Regions from separate parts of the Homo sapiens genome. Here regions 2, 3, 4 and 5 are each linked to region 1. The links are contacts of gene promoters, found by promoter capture Hi-C in blood cells and fetal thymus (Javierre and others, 2016). All regions are on one chromosome and are shown on one strand. The core of a region is centred on a gene start or on the middle of the fragment in contact, and the rest is flanking DNA. Distances in the headings are between cores, read along the strand shown. Region 1 holds the start of LIF (LIF interleukin 6 family cytokine). Region 2 holds the start of ASCC2 (activating signal cointegrator 1 complex subunit 2). Region 3 overlaps ASCC2 (activating signal cointegrator 1 complex subunit 2). Region 4 has its middle 5.1 kb from the start of SEC14L4. Region 5 holds the start of ZMAT5 (zinc finger matrin-type 5).

The links. Contacts are between HindIII fragments. The CHiCAGO score rates a contact against its expected background, and 5 or more counts as called.
Region 2: a contact is called between the fragment with the promoter of ASCC2 here and the fragment with the promoter of LIF in region 1, in 1 of 17 cell types (neutrophils). The highest score is 6.0, in neutrophils.
Region 3: a contact is called between a fragment that was not itself captured here and the fragment with the promoter of LIF in region 1, in 1 of 17 cell types (M1 macrophages). The highest score is 5.1, in M1 macrophages.
Region 4: a contact is called between a fragment that was not itself captured here and the fragment with the promoter of LIF in region 1, in 1 of 17 cell types (total CD8 T cells). The highest score is 5.9, in total CD8 T cells.
Region 5: the fragment with the promoter of ZMAT5 here is called in contact with the fragment with the promoter of LIF in region 1 in 6 of 17 cell types (neutrophils, monocytes, erythroblasts and 3 more); the score reaches 11.1 in neutrophils.

What each region holds. Positions count from the first base shown.
Region 1 is chr22:30,245,355-30,248,054 of GRCh38, reverse strand. It overlaps LIF (LIF interleukin 6 family cytokine), which reads left to right and starts at 1,296. Exons shown (of 3, transcript NM_002309.5): 1 at 1,296-1,378. The coding sequence starts at 1,360. LIF-AS2 (LIF antisense RNA 2) reads right to left here and starts at 1,845. Exons shown (of 1, transcript NR_148946.1): 1 at 1,062-1,845. The HindIII fragment of the contact is 10,846 bases long and covers 1-2,700 here.
Region 2 is chr22:29,837,024-29,839,723 of GRCh38, reverse strand. ASCC2 (activating signal cointegrator 1 complex subunit 2) reads left to right here and starts at 1,450. Exons shown (of 20, transcript NM_032204.5): 1 at 1,450-1,546. RefSeq lists an enhancer at 1,118-1,177. The HindIII fragment of the contact is 11,938 bases long and covers 1-2,700 here.
Region 3 is chr22:29,796,757-29,799,456 of GRCh38, reverse strand. All of the region lies in intron 15 of ASCC2 (activating signal cointegrator 1 complex subunit 2), which reads left to right. Among named protein-coding and RNA genes, the nearest start is that of UQCR10, 31 kb to the right of the region's middle. RefSeq lists enhancers at 1-267, 268-768. The HindIII fragment of the contact is 2,733 bases long and covers 1-2,700 here.
Region 4 is chr22:30,509,487-30,512,186 of GRCh38, reverse strand. No RefSeq gene overlaps it. Among named protein-coding and RNA genes, the nearest start is that of SEC14L4, 5.1 kb to the right of the region's middle. The HindIII fragment of the contact is 599 bases long and covers 957-1,555 here.
Region 5 is chr22:29,765,591-29,768,290 of GRCh38, reverse strand. ZMAT5 (zinc finger matrin-type 5) reads left to right here and starts at 1,284. Exons shown (of 6, transcript NM_001003692.2): 1 at 1,284-1,419. UQCR10 (ubiquinol-cytochrome c reductase, complex III subunit X) reads right to left here and starts at 922. Exons shown (of 2, transcript NM_013387.4): 1 at 743-922. The coding sequence starts at 892. RefSeq lists enhancers at 791-840, 750-1,399, 1,201-1,430, 1,400-2,049. The HindIII fragment of the contact is 8,045 bases long and covers 1-2,700 here.

The DNA.
Region 1 (2,700 bases), core at 47-2,546:
AACTCACACACCTTGATCTCAGGTCAGGGTCAGGCGGAAGGGCTGGGAAGGGGCCACAGGGGACTAAATCATCTCCTGGTACTGGGGGTCCCCTGGCAGCTTTAGGGACGGCATGGCCCCAGACGCGTGGCCATGCTGTCTGGCCGGCATTCCCGCATCTCATAGGGTGTATTTATTTTCACTTTTCTGTTGCATTTCTTGGAGGTGTCCCTGTGCTCATTTTGCCCGGCTCCCCACTGCTCCTTTCTGCCCTTCCTCATTCACAAATCGCCTGGCCTCAGAAGACGCCAGAACATGTGACACTGCCTTAGAGCCTCTAGAAGCACTTTTTGGGGACCTCCATCATTCTCTGAGGCTGGGCTCAAAGGGGCTTCCAAGGCAGGTCTGGAAGGGACCAGCCACTTCTCAGTTTCCCCAACCATCAATCAGCACCCGGAGGAGGAAACTGGGGTACGATTTCGCCAAGCCTCTCTCAGTCCTGCTTCAGAATGGAAATGCTGGACCGCCTTCCCAGAAGCACCTTCCCAGAGTGTCCCGACAGAACTGAGTCAGTCACCCCTACCCCCATGTCTTCCTAGCCCCTTCCCCAGCCTCACAGGTACAGTGGTCAGCAGGGCGAGTGCACTGGTGGTGTCTGGAGGCCTGACCCTCTGGGGCCCTGGGCAACGTGTTCCCCTCGGAGCCCCTTGGGGCCCAGTGGCAATGTGCAGATTGGAGGAGGCTACCTCTGGGGTGGCTTCCAGCGCCCATGTTCAGTTCCACTTTATGACCGTCTAAAGTCCACGCCGGCCCCGGCCCCTCCTCCTGGAGCCTCCTTCTCAGCCAAGCCCTAGCCCTCCTCCTCCCACTGCCCCCCTAAAGCCCCCCAACCAGGGGGCACAGGGGCCAGTCTCCATCTGCTAGTCCAGACTCGCTACCTCCCCAAACCCAGGTGAGTCAGGGCCGTCTGGGGCGCCCACTGCTGGGACCCCTGCTGACTCGGCCAGGGGCCCCCTCCTGGCGATGCCCATCTTCAGACAACTCCCGGGACAAGCCAGGCAGGAAAACCACAGGGCGTTTTGTCGAAGGCTTCATTATAATTTTATCAATCAAATTCTTAGAAGAGGGAAAAAGTCTGTTCTCCCCACCCTCCCCCCTCACTCGTCCCCCCCCTTCACTCTCACTTTCTTCCATTCATAATTTCCTATGATGCACCTCAAACAACTTCCTGGACTGGGGATCCCGGCTAAATATAGCTGTTTCTGTCTTACAACACAGGCTCCAGTATATAAATCAGGCAAATTCCCCATTTGAGCATGAACCTCTGAAAACTGCCGGCATCTGAGGTTTCCTCCAAGGCCCTCTGAAGTGCAGCCCATAATGAAGGTCTTGGCGGCAGGTAAATACACCCGCCCCGCGCCGGCTTCGCGTCCCCGCTGCGGGGCGCGGCGGCAACTTGGGGCGCTTGGCAGCGCGAGCCGGACGCCCACCCGCCGCAGACACACGAACACTTGGGGCGCCCGCGCAGCCACCGGAGGCGCTGGGTGGCGGCCCGGAGCGAGCGCGGGCACATGGTCCCAAGCACCGCACGCCCCGCGGCAGGTTGGCGGCGAGGGAGGGGGCGCCGAGCCTTCCTCCTCCTCCTCTTCTTCCCCCTCTCCTTCTCCTCCTCCTCCTCCTCGCTCCGGACACTCGCTGGCTGCTCTTCCCTCTGCGCTTTCTCCCAGATTCACTCTCCCTCTCTCTTTTTCTTTTCTTTCTTTCTTTCCGCTTTCTCCTTTCCAACCGCGGTCCCGGGCTGCTCCCAGGGAGGGGCGCGGGCGGCGAGCAGCTTGCAAACTCCGGCCTGGGACGGGAGCAGGTGCCGCCTCCATCTGCTGGTGTCTGGAAGCGTGTGGTCTGCGCTAGGTGAGATATAGGGGTGTGGCCCCCCTCCCGCAGCCACCCCGGGGCCTCAGCACTGCCTTGGGATGCTGGGACGAACAGGGGACCCAGGAGAAGTGAACTTGAGGAGGCCCCTGTCCCCGCTGTTCCAGCATGGGGGATCCGGGGGAGGTCTCCAGCCTCACTCGCCCGCTGACCCCGGCCCCCACCATCTTCAGGTGCCCTTCTGCAGAGCCCTGGAAAAGCGTCTAAGGGGGCCTGGGGGGAGTCGGGAGAACAGGCCCCCCTGGGGGAGGGGCAAACCAGGACATGTCGGGACAGCTCCCAGCTCTCCTGTCACCTTTCACTTTCCTTCCTCCCCGCCCACCCGACTGCCTATGACCTTTTGCCTTTTCTCTCTCCTGGTGCACCATTTCCTCTCCCTCCCTGAGCCGGTGTGTGTGTGTTAGGAGGGAGGGGAACCCCTGGGACAAGGGACAGCGGATGAGTCGGGAGAAGGCATGGAGTCAGGGGCTGTCCGGAGCTGGGGGAACAGAGAGTTTTGAATGATGATTTGGGGATGGAGAGTGGGGACAGCCAGGCAGAAATGGGGTGAGCTTGAGTGAGATAGGGGACACTAGGGAAGGAAGAGATAGAGGATGATGGGGGCGGGGGCAGAATTGGGGGCAATTGGCCCAGGGAGCCAGAATCAAGTGGCAGGTTTGGGAGGGAGATGAGGGTCAACCGAGGACTCCTCCCCACTCCCCCATGCCCCGTGGCCCCCATGGGTGCCTGGCTTCGGAGATTTGGGCTGCAATGGGCCAGTGAGTGGGAAGCGCTGCTGAGGAACCTGGGCCA
Region 2 (2,700 bases), core at 201-2,700, 410 kb after region 1:
CCTGTAACCCCAGCACTTTGGAAGGCTGAGGCAGGCGGATCACGACGTCAAGAGATCGAGACCATCCTGGCCAACATGGTGAAACTCCGTCTCTACTAAAAATACAAAAATTAGCTGGGCCTGGTGGCTCATGCCTGTAGTCCTGCCTACTTGGGAGGCTGAGGCAGGAGAATCGCTTGAACCCACTGTAACCTCCGGGAGGCAGAGGTTACAGTGAGCCAAGATCACACCACTGCACTCCAGCCTGGTGACAGAGTGAGACTCTGTCTCAAAATAAATAAATAAATAAATGTGTTTGTTATAAGTGGCAAGCAGTGTGTTGTTATAAGTTTGTGGTAATATGTTATGCAGCAATACAAAACTAATATAATATCCAGCCCCTCTCATCTCATTTCTGGTTTACAGCCCATCTCTCCTATTTCCTTAGCACCCTGCATTCATCACACTGACTCATTGCTATTGGTTTTCTTGCACTTCCTATCCTGTAAGCCCCTTGAAGACAGGCACTGAACTAAGCATTCCTTGTAGCCCTAGTGCAGATAGCAGGGGTTGGCAGGAGTGTCCTGGGAAATATTTCACAATCCCAGGGTGGGGTTGTGTTCTCCATTCGGGGGCTTCTATAACACCCCAATAATGATGGTGGTTGGTTTTGAATTCTTACTGTGTACCAGGCACTGAGATGAAGCCAGGAATGTGTGTTCTTAACAAGTTTTCTGTGATGATTCTGATCCATAGTCAGGCTTAGGAACCACTAAACCTACATTACCTGAGACATTCTGTAGAAAAAATTGCATCCTTCTCTTAGGATAGCTATACTTGTAACTTCCTTAAACAAAACAGAACAAAACTGTATTGCATACATACAGAAAAATGCACAAATCTTAAGCGTACAATTTGATGAATTTTCCAAAGTGAACACATCTACATGGCTACCACCGAGATGAAGACAGGGGGTGACCCCAGCCTCACTTGTGGCCCCTCCCAGCCCACAGCCCCAGAGGAAACCACCAATTTTAACACCATCACTACTCATGAGTTCTGTCTGTTCTAGAATTTCCCGTAAATGAAATCGCAGTCTGTACTTGTACATCTGCTTAACATTATGTTCGTGCTTTTGACTTGTTAAAATTTCTCTTCTGGATTAAATATGTAAAACGGTGACTAAGGAGGTCGGGCAGAAGGTGGAAGCCTGGGATTCCGAGACGTCCTCTCAGGTGCCATACTTGGATTTCCCGAGAGGTGTAATCACACAGCCCGCCCTCAGCTGACCTATTCTCTGCTTAAGCAGGAAGGGAGATAGGAGGGGAAGGGGGCGTGGCTACAGACGCCGAGTGTGGGGCGGAGTCTTAAGAAGAGAGGCGCAACCCGGGTCCGGCTTCCCGGCGGTAGTTTGCTCGGCTCTGGGGGCGGGGCCAGGCCGAGACTTCCTGTCTGCTCCTGCGGAATCGCAGTTTGACCCCGGAAGTGCGGGCGCTCAGGGAGCTGTCACCGTGGTCGGCGGCGGCGGCGGCGGCGGCGGCACAGAGCCGGTGGTGGAGCCGCCGAGGTGAGTGCGTGGCTGGTCCCTGCCAGATGCAGGGCAAGGGACCCCGGAGGAGCCGCGGCTATGCCTTGGGCAGCCTTGGCTCTCCCATCCTCTGGCCTCCATTGCGGGGCCCACGCTTACGCTACCTGAGGGGTTGTGAGCCGCCTCTCGAGACTTGGCCGCCAGGGTCAGGAGCCACGGGTTCGAAGTTCGGCCCCAGAGTGGCGTTGGACCAGCCACGATCCCCCCACGTCCTCACACCCGGGGCTTCAGTTTCCTCAGGGTTCATTCATTCGTTCAGCAAATATTTGTGGAGTGCTTCCTATGTGCCAGACACAGATCTAGACATTGGGGATACAAAGAAAGCAAGACAGACAAGGCTTCTGCCCTCATGGAGCTTACAGTCTAGTGGGAGGAGATGGTCAACGACAAGCAAATGCACAAGGTCATTAAAGCTATGACAGTAACTGGGAGAGTGGATACTATAGGCAGAGCCATCAGAAGGTCTCTGAGGAGAGTAGTATTTAATTGAGAGACTAGAGGAATGATGACAAAGAGGCTGAGGGAGCAGTAGCCCCGGGGATGCTCCCAGGCCATATTGCAATTGGGTGCTTGTAGGGAGCTCCCCCTCCCTTTCTTAGCTTTTGGCTTTTGCTGTCCTGCCTGGCAGGGGAATACAGTGGTGGGCACAGACATAGTCATGATTATTGTTTGTCCTTTTGGAGCTCAAAGTTCAGATTGTCCAGTTAATTTATTTTTTCCCCCCAAGACGGGGTCTTGCTCTGTCGCCCAGGCTGGAGTGCAGTGGCGTGATCTCGTCCCACTGCAACCTCCGCCTCCCGGGTTCAAGCGATTCTCCTGCCTCAGCCTCCTGAGTAGCTAGGATTACAGGCATGCACCACCACGCCCTGCTAATTTTTTTTTTTTTTTTCGGTAGAGACGGGGTTTCACCTTGCTAGCCAGGATGGTCTCGATCTCCTGGCCTCGTGATCCGCCCGCCTTGGCCTCCCAAAGCGCTGGGATTACAGGCGTGAGCCATCGCGCCCAGCCCTGCCTACTTAATTTGTACCCGTGCTTTAGACAAAAACTCAGGTCTTCCTTGACATCACTTCTTCCTCAAGCCAGGTCTCTCTTTTAAATGCTGCCACAGCTTCATGAGCCTTATCTACATAGCT
Region 3 (2,700 bases), core at 117-2,616, 450 kb after region 1:
GGCTGGCTGAGGGCTTGGGGAACTGGCGCAGGGCAACTACAAAGCCGTCTGGCTGGCTGGACAGGAAGCACTTGCAAACTGCTTAGTCATACACATTGCAACACCCCCAGATCCCAGGCCAAAGATGTTATCCTGGATCAGTGGCCGCTATTCCAGGCCAGCATGGCCCTCTGTAGCTCCAGCGGTGGGCAAGGGGCAGACAAGGGGTCCTCCAGGCTGGCGAGAAGCCTGGCCCCCTGCTCCAATCCAGGAAGCCTGATTGGTAAGTTCCCCACAGAGATTAGCCATCTCTGGATATGGCCTTTCACCTTGATCTGTGGTTTTGTCCAGGGCCCATGGTATTGTAAAGTCTCATCTCACCCCACCTAGGTCATAAGTCACCTACGAGCATTTGCCAAGGGGCTGGTCCCAGCTGTCAGGGTCAGCAGAGTGGCTGGCATTGAGGTGGCCAGGTTTCTGGAACACTGTGCCCTTGTTCCTGGGGCCCTCTGGGCTGGCACGCAGAGAGACTCACTGTGCTGGGTAGCCCAGGGGCTGCAGATTGCAAAGAGGCAAAGCCTCCATTCATGTGTTCATTATTTATTCATTCAGCAAATATTTATTAAGAGATTTAGTAGCACCAGATCCTATGCTAGACACCAGGGAAACAGGGTGAGCTGGATACCCGGCCTTGCCCTCAAATGATCATAAGAAAGACCATTAAACAAGTAAGGACAGAGTGGGAGGTGCTGGGGTGGGGTACACAGGAACTTCGGCAGGGACACATGTCCTAATCCCATGAGAAATTAGGTAGGACGCTGCAGATGGTAGTGGAGTTAAAATGTGTTCGTTGTTGAATCAGATAGGCTGTACTCAGTGCTTAAGTAGTAAGGAAATCTGTTCCCTTGCATGACAAGGCGGTGTAAGGTAGGGCCGTCTAGGCTTGGTTGACCTATCATCCAGAATGTATCTTTCCAGTCTCTTGGGGCCTCACTTCGTGGTCAGGCTACTTCCTTTGAGGCTGCAGAGGGGCTGCAGCTGTTTCTACTATGGCTTCCAGACATGACAGTGCCAGGAGATAGTCCAGACCAGGTCTTCCTGTGTCTCTCCTAGAGCCTAGGATACCTTTCCCAGAAGTCTCCAATACCCCTCATATCTCATCAGGAAAACCAACTCACAGGGTGCAGGCCTGGAGCTCCAGGGTGAAACGGAAAGGTAGAAAGACCTAAAGAAAATGTAGGGTCTGTTTGGAGAATGGGTGAGGTGCAGCATGGCTGTTGTGGAGACATCAATACATGTGCTACAGGTATATCATAGCCAGTGAAGGAGTCAGTGGGCAAGAGGCAGGGTCCCCTAATCCCTTTGGACCATTCCATGGTGCCCTGGAAGACAACATGTGTTCTAAAAATATCTGTGCCGGCTGGGCGTGGTGGCTGTAATCCCTGCACTTTGGGAGGCCAAGGTGGGTGGATCACCTGAGGTCAGGAGTTCAAAACCAACCTGGCCAACATGGTGAAACCCCATCTCTACTAAAAATACAAAAAACTAGCTGGGCATGGTGGCAGGCATCTGTAATCTCAGTTACTCGGGAGGCTGAGGCAGGAGAATCATTTGAACCTGGGAGGTGGAGGTTGCAGTGAGCCAGGATCACACCATTGCACGCCATCCTGGGCAACAAGAGTGAAACCCTGTCTCAAAAAATAATAATAATTAAAATTTTATTTTAAGTGTCTGTGCCCTTGGTCTGCCTTTTGGGGAGTCGCAGAGCACATTAAGGCTCTGAAAAGTCCTGTAGTAAAAGAAACAGGATTCACTTTGTTGAGCCCAGAAAGTGCTGGATCTGCTTCGACATGTCATTTCTTTCTCACATCAGCCCTGGGAAGTGGGTGCCAAGAGAAGGAACTGAGACTTAGCGAGGTTAAGGGACTTGCCTGTGGTCACACAGCCCAGGAAGTGGCAAAGCAGACCTGAATCAGGAGACCTGTGTCTGGCCCTGGCTTTGCTCTTAGTAGCTGTGTGACCTTAAGAGGGTTGCTCTGCCTCTCTGGATCCCCTGATTCTTCACCTGGAAAAGTAGGAGTCTGTTGCTTCCACAGGCTCTTTAGAAGTTCAAAGGCAGGAGTCACCCTGCTAAGGACCAGTTTGAATTGGGCCTTGAAGGACAGGCTTGAGGAGATGAGGAAGGGAAAGGTGGCGAGGTTTCAGGGGCACCTGCATATTCCCAGGGCTTGCTCCCATCTTGGAGGCTGAGGAAGCTACCTGCTCCAGAGGGTCTCTGCAGCCACCATTGCCTGTGTTTCCAGGCTTGACTGAAGTTCTGGCCTCTGATGCATCTTTTCCCAGCTGGCTTTGGTCCTGATTTTTCTTTTTCCTTTCTGGCTCCAAATGAGGTCTGGGGCCAAGGTTGCATCTCCCTGGACAAGCTGCCCAGGTGCCCGGGCTTCACTGTCCCTACCTGTGTCTTCTTCCAGGGCATAGCTAGGGTGGGTGGAGCTTGCCATGCTTCTCTGCCTGGCCCTGCCAGGGAGCCACATAACCAGAGGCCACACAGCATGAAAGAACTGCCCCACTGCACAGAACCAGGGATGGGATGGACCAGAAGCCGAAGGTGTAGCAGAAAGGATGGTGATGCCTCTCATTCTTCCTCAGTCTCCTGGCCCAGCACAGGTCCTGGAACCTATTAGGCCCTTAGGAAATATGTGTCAAATGCATGGGTGTGCT
Region 4 (2,700 bases), core at 7-2,506, 260 kb before region 1:
CCCCGCCCACATCCTGCTGATTGGTCCATTTTACTGAGTGCCAATTGGTCCATTTTACAGAGCGTTGATTGGTCCATTTTACAAACCTCTAGCTAGCCACAGAGCGCTGATTGGTGCGTTTTTACAGAGCACTGATTGGCATATTTTACAAACCTCTAGCAAGCCACAGAGTGCTGATTGGTGCATTTTACAATCCTCTTATAGGACAGAACAGTTCTCCAAGTCCCTACCTGACCCAGAAATTCAGCTGGCTTCACCTCTCGGTCTGATCATAGCTCACTGCGAACTTAAACTCTTGGGCTCAAGCAATCCTCTTGCCTTAGCCTCCCAGGTAGCTAGGACCACAGGTTCATGTCACCATGCCCGGAATATTTTTTCTGGCTAATTTTTTTTAAATGTTTTTTTAGAGACAAGGTCTTGCTTTGTTGCCTAGGCTGGTCTTAAACTCCTGGCCTCAAGTGATCCTCCCACCTTAGCCTCCCAAGCAACTGAGATTACAAGTGCAAGCCACCGCTGTCTGCTTAGAATAAATTTTTTTTTTTTTGAGACGGAGTTTTGCTCTTGTCACCCAGGCTGGAGTGCAGTGGCACGATCTTGGTTCACTGCAACCTCTGCCTCCTGGGTTCAAGTGATTCGCTTGCCTCAGCCTCCAGAGTAGCTGGGACTACAGGCGTGTGCTACCACGCCCGGCTAATTTTTCACCATATTGGCCAAGATCGATCCCCTGACCTTGTGATCCGCCTGCCTCGGCCCCCCAGAGTGTTGGGATTACAGGCATGAGCCACCACGTGCGGCGCTTAGAATGAGTTTTTACACAGCTCTGGAGGATTGAAAGTTATCCGTGTGGCTTGTATTATTTTTCCACTGGACAGCCCTGAGCTATCATAATATTTACAAACCCTTAGAGCCAGCCTGGTAAGTAGAAAGTACCTGTAAGTGATAGTTAAATAAAAGCTTCTCTTGGGAGGTGATTTGTTACCTCTGGTATTTCAAAATATGGCTTTTCCCACTCCTCAGAAACTGGGAAAAGTTGGGGCAAATTTATTTAAAACAGATTTTTTTTTTTTTTTTTGAGAAAAGATCTCCTCTCTGTTGCCAAAGCCGGAGTTCAGTGGCATAAACATGGCTCACTTTAGCCTCGATCTCCCTGGCTCAGGCAATCCTCCTGCCTCAGCCTCTGGTGTAGCTGGGACCACTGGTGCGTGCCACCACACCTGGCTAATTTTTTGATTTTCTGCAGAGACGGGGTCTCATTTTGTTGCCCAGGCTGTTTTCCAACACCTGGGCTCAAGCAATCCACCTACCTCAGCCTCCCAAAGTGTTGGGATTACAAGCATGAGCCACTGGGCCCAGCCCCAAATTTCTTTTCTTATCCAGTTTTTCTTTTACTGAGTAGTTTTTGTTTTATGTTCCAGAAGCATAAAGCATGCATTATGTGGTCCTGTCTTTCCCAAACTGTTGTTATAAACCCTTCCATCAACTACATTAAGCACCATAGCTTACTTTAAAATTGTCTCCAATCTTCCTGTTAACAACACACAAACAACTTTAAGCTTAAAATATTTTTTGTTAGGATTATCACTGGGCAAAGTGGGAAAATATTTCAGGATTCTGAAGTGTATGGTCAAGTGGTTTTCCAGAAAAGCTGAATTCGTTTATATTCCTGCCATCAATGTATTAATGTCTCCATTTCACCAACTTCTAACTGACTTTATTATTTTCTTTCTTTTTGTGACAGGGTCTCCCTCTGTCACTCAGACTGGAGTGCAGTGTCACAATCATAGCTCACTGCAGCCTCCACCTTCTGGGCTCAAGTGATCCTCCCTCCTCAGCCTCCCAAGTAGCTGGGACTACAGGAGCATGCCACCACGCCTGGCTAGTTTTTTAATTTTTTGTAGAGACGAGGTCCCACTATGTTGCCTGGACTGGTCTCGAACTCTTGGCTTCAAGAGATCTTCCCAAAGTACTGGGATCACAAGTGTTAGCCACTGTGCCTGGCCTATTATCTGAGTAGCTGGGACTACAGTCTCACCCCACCACACCCAGCTAATTTTGTAGTTTTTTCTTAAAAGGTGTGTGTGTGTCTGTGTGTGTGTGTTGTTTGTTTTTGCTGATTTTTCAGAGAAAAATGCATCTCATTACTTGAATACACATTTCATTGATGACTCTGGAGATTGGGCATTCATCCACTTGATAAATACACCCTGAGCATTTTCATTCCTAAGAATTGGTGCTTTGAATCCTTTGCCCATTTATTTCTTAGGGCCTTCCTATTTTTCTTATCAACTTGAATTTTTGTACATTTTATTTTTCCCAAATTTCCATCAGCAAATACTGACAAATGTCTTTTTTTTTTTTTTTTTGAGATGGAGTCTAGCTCTGTCGTCCAGGCTGGAGTGCAGTGGCATGATCTCAGCTCACTGCAACCTCTGCCTCCCAGGTTCAAGTGATTCTCCTGTCTCAGCCTCCCGAGTAGCTGGGATTATAGGCACCTACCACCATGCGCAGCTGATTTTTGTATTTTTCGTAGAGACGGGGTTTCACTGTGTTGGCCAGGCTGGTCTTGAACTCCTGATCTCCTGATCCGCCCGCCTCAGTCTCCCAAAGTTTGGGATTACAAGCGTGAGCCACAGCGCCCGACTCTGATAAATGTCTTAATTCTGTTTCTTGTTTAATAGATTTTTGTATTTTGTAGTCAAA
Region 5 (2,700 bases), core at 35-2,534, 480 kb after region 1:
GATTCCTACCTCATGCTTCCACTTTCTCCTGAGGAATGTAAGCAATGATTATTTTTCAGTGGTACCACCTACCAGGCATGTGGCACCCTGCCTGCATCTCATGTAATCCTCACAATCGTGCTCAGGTTACTATTAATATCTCCATCTCACAGTTAAAACGGAGTTCAGAGAAGAAACTTGCTCAACTTAATGCCACAGTTAAGTGACAAGGACCAGTGTTCCTATCCAAGGCTTTCTGATTTCATAGCCCCCACTCTCAACCATTAATACCAACTGTCTACGTGGGAAGCCTTGGGGACCAGAAGCGCCGTCTGAAACTTCAGCCACGGCGTCTAAGGTGTCTAACGTCCTTTTCACGACCGTCGCCTGCTCAAATCTGCCCTTGAAACTCTGAGAGACAGGGGTCCCGTTTCTGGCCCTGACTTGCCCCTGGCTTCCTGTGCAGCTAGTAAGTCCTTTGCTCTCACTAGCCTTTAGTTTTTGCTTCTGATAATGGGCAAGTGGGTATGTAGGGTGGCACACAGCAATACTTACAACCCCTGCAAAATGAAATATATTAACCTCGCTTAACGTTTTAGAATTCACATCAAGCCAAGGGGACAGACGGCGGACTCGAGACAGAAGACGCCGACGGTTTACCCCTTACCCCCTTCCTGGTAAAAGTATACTGAGTCCCATCCCACCTCTACTCCACTGTCACCCCTCAGGCGGGTCCAAGGTCAGGGATGGCACAGGCCCTCACCCCCTCGTTGATGTGGTCGTAGATAGCGTCCGCGCCTTGATCGAAGGCGCGCTCGAAGAACATGACGCCCACGATGATGGTGAGGGCGAAGGTGGAGGTCCTGCGGAACAGCAGGGAGTACAATTTCGAAGTCAACGTCGCGGCCGCCATGTTTCTTCACAGTCCAACTCGCGCCACCGCGCCTGCGCTGGGGCCGACCTCGTTCCCCAAAGGCCCTAGACGTGCAACACTTTATGGGATTTGTAGTTCCTCTGAATCTCAGCCTTCGTGTTTTGAACCACAGAGGTATTCCTATCCTGGGAATGAGGAAAAAAACTCAAAAGGTTCATATCAGGACAGCCCAGATAATCTGATAAGATTTATTACCCAATTTTTCTTCTCCAGAATTCCTGGCTGTTAGAATATGTCAAACTACAACTCCCAGAAGCCCTCGCGCGCCATCACCTTCTCCCCGCCCTCCGCCCAGTCCCGGCTTAGATTCCCAAAGCTCTCTGGGAAGGGCGAACTGATGGCCAAGGCGAGACTACGAATCCCAGCAAGCAGTACGCGACGCGAGGACGCAGGAGGAGGAGCCCGGAGCTGCAGCCACCGGGGAGCCAGGTACCTTCCGCGAGACGTCGAGGGGCGAGTCCTAGTCTCTTTTCTCCGCACTGGAAGACTTGAACACTTCCTTCTCTGTGCGTACGCCCTGCGGCGGGACGCACCATTTCTTGGGATAGGGTGTGGATAGAGGGGCGAGGGCAGCTGGGTTCCCGAGACCCTGGCTCAACTCTTCGCCTTGTCCCCTGCACCAGCCCCAAGTCTAGGCCAGGAGCTGGAGCCTGCGGCAAAAGTCTTGTCCTGGAGGTTAAACCCTTCACCCTGGATTAAGGGCAGGGACGGATCTGCCCTGCTTCCTGTTCCTCTCACCCCTGGGCTTCGCACCGGGCAACCCTGGTTTGGAAGGCTGGAGACTTGGAACCTGCTTGGGATTGAAAAGAGCAAGGGCTTTGGAGTACCTGGGGCATTCAACAGATGTTTTCCCAGCGCCTGTTCTGGTCCCTGCTCTGGGGACCCAGCAGTGAACAAAGTCCTTGCTCTCACAGAGCGCTCAATCTACGGAGTGGGCGGGTGGGGAGATGCAGTACAGCAAACAGATAGTGCTTTGGTTGACTGGAGAGGCAGTGGTGGTGACATTGCACCCTGGGTAGCTGCTCTGGGGGGTGACACTTGACTAGAGACCTGAATGAATAGTAGAGTTGAACAGGAAAACGTTGGTGCAAAGGCCTTGAGGCAGCTACAGTCCTGGGATGTTTGAGGGAAAGAAGTAGAGTGGACTGTGAAGAGGTTGACTCCGGTCAGCTCATGTCTGGCCTTGGAACCCACCTTACGGAGTCTTGTTTTCTTTGGTTTTTGTTTTTAGAGACAGGGTCTCACTGTGTTGCCCAGGCTGGTCTCCAACTCCTGGGCTCAAGCAATCTTCCTGCCTCGCCCCCCAAGGTGCGTGAGCCACCGCGTCTGGCCAAGGAGTCTTGTCTTTTTCTAGTTGCACTAGGAGGCCATTGAAGGGTTTTCAGGAGAAATGCGACAAGATTTAATGTGCACTTTAATGTCATCATCCTGGCTGGTCTATGGAGAGTGGACCGCAAGGGGGAAGTTATTGTAGTAGATCATTTGAGGGAAGATGGGTGGTTATTTATTTGAGATGGAGTCTCGGTCTGTCGTCCAGACTGGAGTGTAGTGGTGCTATCTCGGCTTACTGCAACCTCCGCCTCCCGGGTTCAAGTGATTCTCCTGCTTCAGCCTCCCGAGTGGCTGGGATTACAGGCGCCTGCCACCATGCCTGGCTAATTTTTTTTTTTAGTAGAGACAGGGTTTCACCATGTTGGCCAGGCTAGTCTCAAACTCCTGACTTCAGGTGATCCTCCCATCTTGGCCTCCCAAAGTGCTGGGATTACAGGCGTGAGCCACCATGCCCG